3 separate regions of the Homo sapiens genome follow, and regions 2 and 3 are each linked to region 1. Evidence: promoter capture Hi-C in 16 types of primary human blood cells and fetal thymus (Javierre and others, 2016). All regions are on one chromosome and are shown on one strand. The core of a region is centred on a gene start or on the middle of the fragment in contact, and the rest is flanking DNA. Distances in the headings are between cores, read along the strand shown. Region 1 holds the start of HDHD5 (haloacid dehalogenase like hydrolase domain containing 5). Region 2 has its middle 21 kb from the start of CECR2. Region 3 overlaps CECR2 (CECR2 histone acetyl-lysine reader).

Region 1 (2,966 bases), core at 359-2,858:
CCTTTTATCAACATATTCTAATTTCAAACTTCCACCTTGGTCACGTCTAGCTATGTGACACTGGCCAAGTCACTCAGCTGCTTTGAACCTTAGCTGCTCCATATTTAAAAATCATAAAAATAATACAGCTGTTAAGAGCTTAGACTCTGGCACCAGACTACCTGAGTTCCAGATTCTGCCACTTACCAGCTGTGTGCCCTTGGGTAAGCTGCTTAACCTCTCTGTGCCTCTGCTCCATCTATAAAATGGGAAGACTAATAATAGTACTTTCCTCGGAGTTGTTATAAAGATTATACGAATAACTGTGAAGTACTTAGAATAGTGCCTGGCACAAAGTAAGCACTATGTGTTTTTTTCATGCAAGTAATTTGGCCGGGTGCACTGGCTCATGCCTGTAATCTCACCACTCTGGGAGGCCAAGATGTGAGGATCATCTGAGGTCAAAAGTTCGAGACCAGCCTGGCCAACATGGTGAAACCCTGTCTCTACTAAAAATACAAAAATTAGCCGGATGTGGTGGCGGGTGCCTGTAATCCCAGCTACTCGGGAGGCTGAGACAGAAGAATCGCTTGAACCCGGGAGGCGGAGGTTGCAGTGAGCAGAGATTGCGCCACTGCACTCCAACCTGGTGACAGAGATGCCGTCTAAAAAAAAAAAATGCAAGGATTACTGTGAAATCCGTATGTTAATGTAAAATATTACTTGTGCGTTTAGAAGACAAAGTGATTCCTTTTTCCAGAAAAGGCAAAACGGCCCAAGGGAGCGTGAGAGCCGTGGATCTGACCAACCTGGTTTAGTGTCCTGTGCCGTCTCCCAGCTGCAGGACCTGAGAAAACGTACTTGAAAACTCGTCAAGCTTCGGCTTCCTGACCACACAAGGTCACACCTTCTCAGAAGTTGCGGGGAGGCTCACACATCACTACCGCGCCGGGCACACAGCAGGCGCCGGCTCCAGCCCTCCTGCTCCCGCCCGCGGAGCCTCCAGCGCTCAGTCGAGGTCACAGCGAGCTGAACTGAACCCAAGGCCCGCACCAAACCCACAGGCACTTGGGGGCGGAGCACCCGCAGGCGCGGCTCCCGGCGCGCGGCCCAGTTTCCTCCACATGCAGATGAAAATCACGACCCAAACGTCCTCATGGTGGAAATCAGAAGACGCGCAGGGAAAACAGGGACGCGGAAACTGCCGGGAAGCGCAGGGGCTGACAAGCAGCCTGGCCCAGGCCGTCCCACGAGCGCTCTCCCGCGGGAGTAGCGTTTCCGAGGCCGCCAGCGAGTCAGAGGAAGGCAGGGCGCATCCGCCCTCCAGCAAGAACGCGATGCACTCGGGCGCGACGACGGTCCAGGCAGTTCCCAGGAGGCTGGGATACCAGCCCGGCCGCCCCTCCTTCCCCGCGGCTCCCCGCCCCGCCTCCGGCCCTGAGTGGCGAGTGGCTCGGCCAGAACCCGGACGTCCTCACCTGAGCGGGGCCCACAGCATAGCACCTGCGGGCGGGGCGGCCCTGGAGCCCCGCAGCCGCGCGCGCCGCCCGCCAGCAAAGCCCACGCGCCGCGCCGAGCGCAGCCACACAGCCCCACGCAGCCATCCGGCCGTCGCCGTGCGCACGTGCACGGCGTGCGGCCCCCCCCCCCCGCGAGTCCGTCCGCTGCACAGCCAATCAGCGGTCGGCGCGCGCGGCATCACGGGAGTTGTAGTCCTGTAAGCGCGCGGAGCCCGTCGGGCGCCTATGGAACTCGACCCGCAGGCCAAAGGGGCTCCGTTGCAAGGAAGAAGTGCGGGGTCCCGCCGCCTCCTAGACCGAGATCGCGGTGAGCTGGCCGCGGCGCACAATGGGCACGGCCTGGGCGGCGGCGTCCGTACTATCGCCCTGTGCCTGCGGATCCCGGTAACATTGCGCGGCAGGCCCCAGGCCGGCCTCCCTCAGCTTCGCGGACTGTCTGGGCCGGGGGTCTCAACCTTGACTTCAGGGCCGGGCCGCTGGGGCAGACCCTTAGTGATGTTCAGGTCCTCTGGGCCCCTGCCAGTCAAGGGACGCTCGTCGCGCGCCAATTGTTAAGTCTTTCATTGTTTCTGTAAACCTGCTGACGCCCTCCCAGCGCATAGGGAGACTGCGCACGTGAGTCCGCCCCCGCGCGCACTGCGGAGAGGTAGAGGCACGAATGTAGTACAAGGTACAAAATGACTACTCCAGAGAGGGCCAGATGACTAAGTCAGCAAACACTTAGGGAACACGACTGTGTCCGCTGCGCGTTTCCCGGAGTAGACACAAGGGTGAATGAACAAAGAATGGATTTCGGTCACTGAAAGTGGAGAGGTAGCCGACTCCGTCCGTGGAGGCCCTTAGCAGAGCTGGATCTGGTAGTCCCCCGGTCATGAGGGGAGATTCTGCTGGAGGAAAGAGGTCTCCATTCCCACCGTTTGAAATGTGTAGGATGCCCTCAGATTCTTTGGCCCATTCATAGGTATAGCTATGCTAAAAACGCGGGACCCTACAATGTACTTAGCACTAGCAGAGAGGGAGTCGAGGATATGGACAGAGACTGCACTAGCTCACACATTAGCAGGCCAGGGTGCGGTGGCTCACCCCTGTAATCCCAGAACTTTGGAAGGTCAAGGTGGGAGGAAAACTTGAGTCCAGGAGTTCCAGACCAGCCTGGGCAACATAGGGAGACCCCTTCTCTATTTTAAAAATAATAAAATAGGGCCGGGTGCGGTGGCTCACACCTGTAATCCCAGCACTTTGGGAGACTGAGGCGAGTGGATCAGGAGGTCAGGGGTTCAAGACCACCTAGCCAAGATGGTGAAACCCCGTCTCTGCTGAAAACTGCAAAAATTAGCCAGGCGCGGTGGCAGGCGCCTCAAGTCCCAGCTACTCGGGAGGCTGAGGCAGGAGAATCGCTTGAACCCAGGCAGCAGAAGTTGCAGTGAGCCGAGATTGCGCCAATGCACTCCAGCCTGGGTGACGGAG
Region 2 (3,110 bases), core at 203-2,702, 190 kb after region 1:
TATACATTTCTGTATTTCTAAAGTCTCTCATATGAGACTGAAAAATCATAATTGTTTTTGGCAGAGCCAATTAGCACATTTAACATGACTTTTCTCCAGCGACAACAATGCAGCATCATCTCATCAGCCTCTTCCTGTAGGTGCTATTTTCCAGTGCTTTTCTGAAGCTTCTTTACATTCTCTACATGATACTGGCATGTGGCACCTTTATTCTGACAGCAGTGAAGGCCTGTTTAATGCAGGCTGAAAGGGTCATCTTCTAGTAGGCAAATATAAAATTGTGTAATCAAATCCCAAAAACCAATTACAGAAAAGTAGTTGAAGGAGATCTTGGCCTGACCATTTATTTATTTATTTATTTATTTATCTGAGTCAGAGTCTTGATCTATTGCCAAGGCTGACGTGCAATGGCACGATCTCAGCTCACTGCAACCTCCGCCTCCCCAGTTCAAGCAATTCTCCAGCTTCAGCGTCCTCAGTAGCTGGGATTACAGGTGCCCACCACCATGCCTGGCTAATTTTTGTATTCTTAGTAGAGTTTCACCATGTTGGCCAGGCTGGTCTTGACCTCCTGACCTCAAGTGATCCATTCGCCTCTGCCTCCCAAAGTGCTGGTTTGATTACAGGTGTGAGCTACCATGCCCAGCCAGCCTGACTGTTTATTTTTAAATTGGGGGGTTTCTGTTGTCTCTGGACTCAATATGAACCAATGGTGTGATGAGCTGCCAAAACCCTAATGCTAGCTTGGTTGTCTTAAGATAAACATGCTTATCAGCTCAAGGGAAGGAAGCAACACTGTCATACTGGGCGTTGGTGAAATAACTTTTGCTTTGTTTTGTTAGGTACAATCCCAAGAAGAACCTTGAGAAGGCTCAACAGGACTTTAAGAAGTCTTGGAATCGCGCCACTGCACTCCAGCCTGGTGGCAGAACAAGACTCCATCTCAAAAAAAAAAAAAAAAAAAAAAAAGAAGTCTTGGGCCAGGCTCCGTGGCTCATGCGTGTAATCCCAGCACTTTGGAAGGCTGAGGCAGGCGGATCACCTGAGGTCAGGAGTTTGAGACCAGCCTGGCCAACATAGTGAAACCCTGTCTCTACTAAAAATACAGAAATTAGTCGTGCGTGGTGGAACGCTCCTGTAGTCCCAGCTACTTGGGAGGCTGAGGCAGGAGAATCACTTGAACCTGGGAGGCGGAGGTTGCAGTGAGCCGAGATTGCGCCACTGCACTCCAGCCTGGGGGACAGAGCGAGACTCTGTCTCAACAACAACAACAACAACAACAAAAGTCTTGAATCCACGCTATGCGAGGAAGGAACGAGGGAAGGACCACAGCTCTGTCCTTAGTTCTTGGCCCCCCTCCCTTCCCATGTCCTCCCTGGGGAGCCTCCCGAAGGGCTTGCTACACCCTGCTGGCTCCCGCACCACGTCCACTGGGACCTCCCTGCTGGTCCTGTGCATCCGGCTGGTCATCAGCTCATCGTGCCTCAGGGTTACAACGTGTATACCTGCTTGCTTCAACTTTCTCTGAAGAGCCATAGTCTGGATTTCAGGCAGTGAGGTCATCCCTCGCCCAGTCACGCGAGTGTGGGATATGATGAGGTTTCTCTTCAAATAGCCCTATCAATCCTTTATTCTTTAATTCATATACCCTTAAACCCCTTTTTCCTTTCTCTCTTTTTTTCCTTTCTGCCTTTGTTACATGCCCAGACACGCCACAGTACCAGGCTTATCAGTACCAGCTCACATTCTTTCCTTATTTAAAAAAAAAGATGACCGGGCGCGGTGGCTCACGACTGTAATCCCAGCACTTTGGGAGGCCGAGGCGGGCGGATCACGAGGTCAGGAGATCGAGACTATCCTGGCTAAAACGGTGAAACCCCGTCTATACTAAAAATACAAAAAAATTAGCCGGGCGTGGTGGCGGGCGCCTGTAGTCCCGGCTACTCGGGAGGCTGAGGCAGGAGAATGGCGTGAACCCGGGAGGCGGAGCTTGCAGTGAGCCGAGATCGCGCCGCTGCTCTCCAGCCTGGGCGACAGAGCGAGACTCCGTCTCAAAAAATAAAAAAATAAAAAAATAAAAAAGACTAGCTCGCTAACTCATTACAGATACCCTTTCCCCTTTTCCCCTCTCTCCCTTACGTGTCCACCTTATCTAAAAAGAGTTCAAATGTCTAGCCAACCGGGATTAGTTCAGTTTGTGCGACCCGACCCTGGCCAATGGGGAAAGGGTACAGGGGCAGGACTTGGCATCAGGAATAAAGGCTCTCGTGCGCCTTTGTTCAGGTGTGCTCTCATGGTGACCGGCCAAGGAAAAGCACCCCTCTGCGCAAAAGTAAAATTGCTTTGCTAAGAATCCTTTGTTTGAGTGTTCAATCTCCTTAAGATTTTAAGTGTTATTCCCAACACAAGTAATCTAGGACACGTATTTCTCAAGCAGAACACACATCAGTCACCAAAGCCTGTAGGTTCTAGCTGCACAATATTGTCCTGACTCCTCCTTTTCTTCATGCCCTCTGCTGTTGCCTTCGGTTAGGACCTCACTGCTTCCTGCCTGAATTACTGACTTCAGCCTTTGTGACTTCAGTCTATTTTCTAACTCGTCTTTCTGACTACAACCTATTTGTTCCCTTTGCTTCTTCAAGCCATTCTCCATCATTGTGCCAATGTTCTAAACGTAAACAGTTTCTATCATTTTCTTGCTTAAACTCTTTCAGTGGCTTCTCCAAATGTGTCAGCATGAAGCTTTAACTGTGAGCTGAGCACAAAAGGACTTTCCTCACCTGAATCCTGTTTACATCTGTAGCCTCATTCTTCTTCCACAACCAACAAACATGCTTTGCCCCAGACACTCCGAGTGACGCGACTATTTTATGCCACTGCGCCTCTTAGCTTCCCCCTTGTCCACCCAAAGGACACATGTCCTTCAAGCTGCACTGAAGCATCTCCGTGTCCAGGAAGCGTCCTCTGGTGTCCTAGCTTAGTGTGGATGTTCTTTGTCCGTGCTCCCCATAACATATTGTGCCTACATGCAGATCTCTAATCTCTGATTTATTTGTTTGCCTTCCTCTCTAGACTTTAATTGCTGAACTGCATGGACCCTGGTTTACTGA
Region 3 (3,094 bases), core at 246-2,745, 250 kb after region 1:
GTTCACCTTTTTCTGTGTTAGCTATTTATATCTTTGGTGATCTTCTAGTTAAGGTATTCTGCTCATTTTAAAATTGGACTCTTTGTCTATTGAGCTGTTATATATTCTGGTTTTGCTTTTTCCTAATCTAAGGTCACAAAGGTTTGTTTCTTACATTTTCTTCTAGAAGTTTTATTGTTTTAGATTTACCATTTAAGTCTGTGCTTCATTTTGAATTGATAATTTGCATATGATATAAAGTACTGATCGAAGTTGGTGGGGTTTTTTTTGAGTGGGGAGGGGGCATGTGTTTAGTAGCATTTGTAGATAAGACCACCCTGGCCGGGCACAGTGGCTCACACCTGCAATCCTAGCACTTTGGGAGATGGAGTCAGGAGGATCACGAGGTCAGGAGTTTGAGACTAGTCCAGCCAATGTGGTGAAACCCCGTCTCTGCTAAAAATAACAAAAATTAGCCGGGCGTCATGTTGCACGTCTGTACTCCCAGCTACTTGGGAGGCCGAGGCAGAAGAATCTCTTGAACCCAGGAGGTGGAGGTTGCAGTGAGCCGAGATCGTGCCACTGCACTCCGGCCTGGATGACAGTGCGAGACTCTGTCCCCATCCCCCCGACCCCCCTGCCAAAAAAAAAAAAAAAAAGACTATCCTTTATTAGTTGCCCAAGTCAGTTTTCCATATACATGTGGGTTCATTTCTGGACCCTGTTCTTTCTTTTTTTTTTTTTTTTTTTTTTTGAGACGGAGTCTCGCTCTGTCGCCCAGGCTGGAGTGCAGTGGCGGGATCTCGGCTCACTGCAAGCTCCGCCTCTCGGGTTCACGCCATTCTCCTGCCTCAGCCTCCCCAGTAGCTGGGACTACAGGCGCCCGCCACTACGCCCGGCTAATTTTTTGTATTTTTAGTAGAGACGGGGTTTCACCGTTTTAGCCGGGATGGTCTCGATCTCCTGACCTCGTGATCCACCCGCCTCGGCCTCCCAAAGTGCTGGGATTACAGGCGTGAACCACCGCGCCTGGCCCTGGACCCTGTTCTATGTCATTGTTCACTCTGTTCTGTTTTCAAGACAATATCACAGTATCTTAATTAGTGCAGCTTTTAATAAGTAGTGAAATCAAATAATGTTAGTCCTCTCACTTTGTTCATTTTCAAAGTTGCTTTGGCTATTTTATATTTTTTATATTTCCATATGAATTTTAGAATTAGCTTATCAGTTTCTACAAAAAAAGCCTGCTAGCATTTAGATTGGAGTTGTATTGAATATCTAGGTCAATTTGTAGAAAATGGGCCTCTTAACACTATTGAGTCTTCTGACCCATGATGATGGTACCTCTCTCTCTCTAGGTTTTCTTTGATTTCTGACAGAAAAGTTTTATATTCAAATTCTCAACTCTTTAGGTATCTCCCATCTTTTGTCAGATTTATCCCAAAGTATTTCATTCTTTTTGATGCTATTATACATTTTTGAAAGTTTTAGGCCAGGCATGGTGACTCACACCTGTAATCCCAGCACTTTGGGAAGCTGAGGCAGGCGGATCACCTGAGGTCAGGAGTTCAAGACCAGCCTGGCCAACATAGTGAAACCTTGTCTCTACTAAAAAATACAAACAATTAGCTGGGCATGGTGGTGGACGCCTGTAATCCCAGCTACTCAGGAGGCTGAGGCAGGAGAACCGCTTGAACCTGGGAGGTGGAGGTTGCAGTGAGCCGAGATTGCGCCATGGCACTCCAGCATGGGCAACGAGAGCGAAACTCCGTCTCAAATAAAATAAGATAAGATAAGATAAAATAAGATAAAATAAAAAATATAAAATAAAATAAAATATAAAATAAAATAAATTAGACGGGTGTGGTGGCTGCCGCCTGTGATCCCAGCTACTCCAGAGGCTGAGGCAGGAGAATCGCTTGAACCTAGGAGGCAGAGGTTGCAGTGAGCCGAGATCGTGCCACTGCATTCCAGCCTGGGCAAAAGAGTGAGACTCCATCTCAAAAAAAAAAAAAAAAAAAAAAAAAAATTTTCAATTGTTTGCTAGTATTAGAAATAGCGTTGAGTTATATTACTCTTGTATCTGTAACCTTCCTAAACTCCCCCCTTTTAGCAACCTGTTTGTAGATTCCATTGGATTTTCTGCATAGATGATCATGTTGTCTGTAAATAAAAATAGTTTTGCATCTTTTTGCAATGTGGAAGCCACTACTTCTTTTTCTTACCTTAGTGCACTGTCTAGAGCCAACCATAAAATGTAGAGGCCAGAGTAGACATCCTGGTCTTGTTCCTCATCTTAGAGAAAAAGCATTCAGGTCTTCCCCTTTTCCCTTTCTATTTCTTCCTGCAGCCATGGGTTATTTAGAAATACGAATATATTAGAAGTGTATTAGTTATTAGAAGTGTGAAGAATATTAGTTTTCAAATATTTGGGAATTTTCCAGAGAGCTTTCTATTAATGATATCTAATTTAACCCACTTTAGTCAGACAAGACATTTTGTATGACTTGCATCCTTTTAAATGTATTGAGACTTGTTTTATGGCCCAGAATATGGTGTCTTTTGGTAAATGTTTCATTTTCACTTGAAAAGAATGTGTAGGACCGGGCATGGTGGCTCACGCCTGTAATCCCAGCACTTTGGGAGGCCAAGGCGGGAGGACCACCTGAAGTCAGGAGTTCGAGACCAGCCTGGCCAACATGACGAAACCCCGTCTCTACTAAAAAAATGCAAAAATTAGCCAGGCGTGGTGGCACACGCCTGTAATCCCAGCTACTGAGGAGGCTGAAGCATGAGAATCACTTGAACCCAGGAGGCGGAGGTTGCAGTGAGTCGAGATTATACCACTGCACTCCACCCTGGGGGGTGACAGAACAGGATTCTGTTCCTCCCCCCACCCCTCCCTCCAAAAAAAAGAAAAGAATGTGTATTCTGCTGTTCTTGGCTAGAGTATCTTATAAATGTCAATTCAGAGACTTCTTTATCTTTTAATACAATAGGGGTGAAATATGAAATGATTCATTTCCCTTCCCCAGATTCTTAGCATGAGTCTGGAAATCCTGCCAGCTCTTTCTTCTAGCTGAAGAGCTGTCTCCTGATTGCAGTGACAGCTTTG

Evidence for each region. Contacts are between HindIII fragments. The CHiCAGO score rates a contact against its expected background, and 5 or more counts as called.
Region 2: a fragment that was not itself captured here is called in contact with the fragment with the promoter of HDHD5 in region 1 in 1 of 17 cell types (naive B cells); the score reaches 5.4 in naive B cells.
Region 3: a contact is called between a fragment that was not itself captured here and the fragment with the promoter of HDHD5 in region 1, in 1 of 17 cell types (naive B cells). The highest score is 6.2, in naive B cells.

The regions. Positions count from the first base shown.
Region 1 is chr22:17,157,669-17,160,634 of GRCh38, forward strand. HDHD5 (haloacid dehalogenase like hydrolase domain containing 5) reads right to left here and starts at 1,609. Exons shown (of 8, transcript NM_033070.3): 1 at 1,458-1,609. The coding sequence starts at 1,583. It overlaps HDHD5-AS1 (HDHD5 antisense RNA 1), which reads left to right and starts at 1,721. Exons shown (of 2, transcript NR_024483.1): 1 at 1,721-2,169. RefSeq lists a silencer at 1,291-1,620. The HindIII fragment of the contact is 6,885 bases long and covers 855-2,966 here.
Region 2 is chr22:17,346,420-17,349,529 of GRCh38, forward strand. No RefSeq gene overlaps it. Among named protein-coding and RNA genes, the nearest start is that of CECR2, 21 kb to the right of the region's middle. RefSeq lists an enhancer at 640-934. The HindIII fragment of the contact is 2,575 bases long and covers 166-2,740 here.
Region 3 is chr22:17,403,659-17,406,752 of GRCh38, forward strand. All of the region lies in intron 1 of CECR2 (CECR2 histone acetyl-lysine reader), which reads left to right. Among named protein-coding and RNA genes, the nearest start is that of CECR2, 36 kb to the left of the region's middle. The HindIII fragment of the contact is 3,899 bases long and covers 1-3,094 here.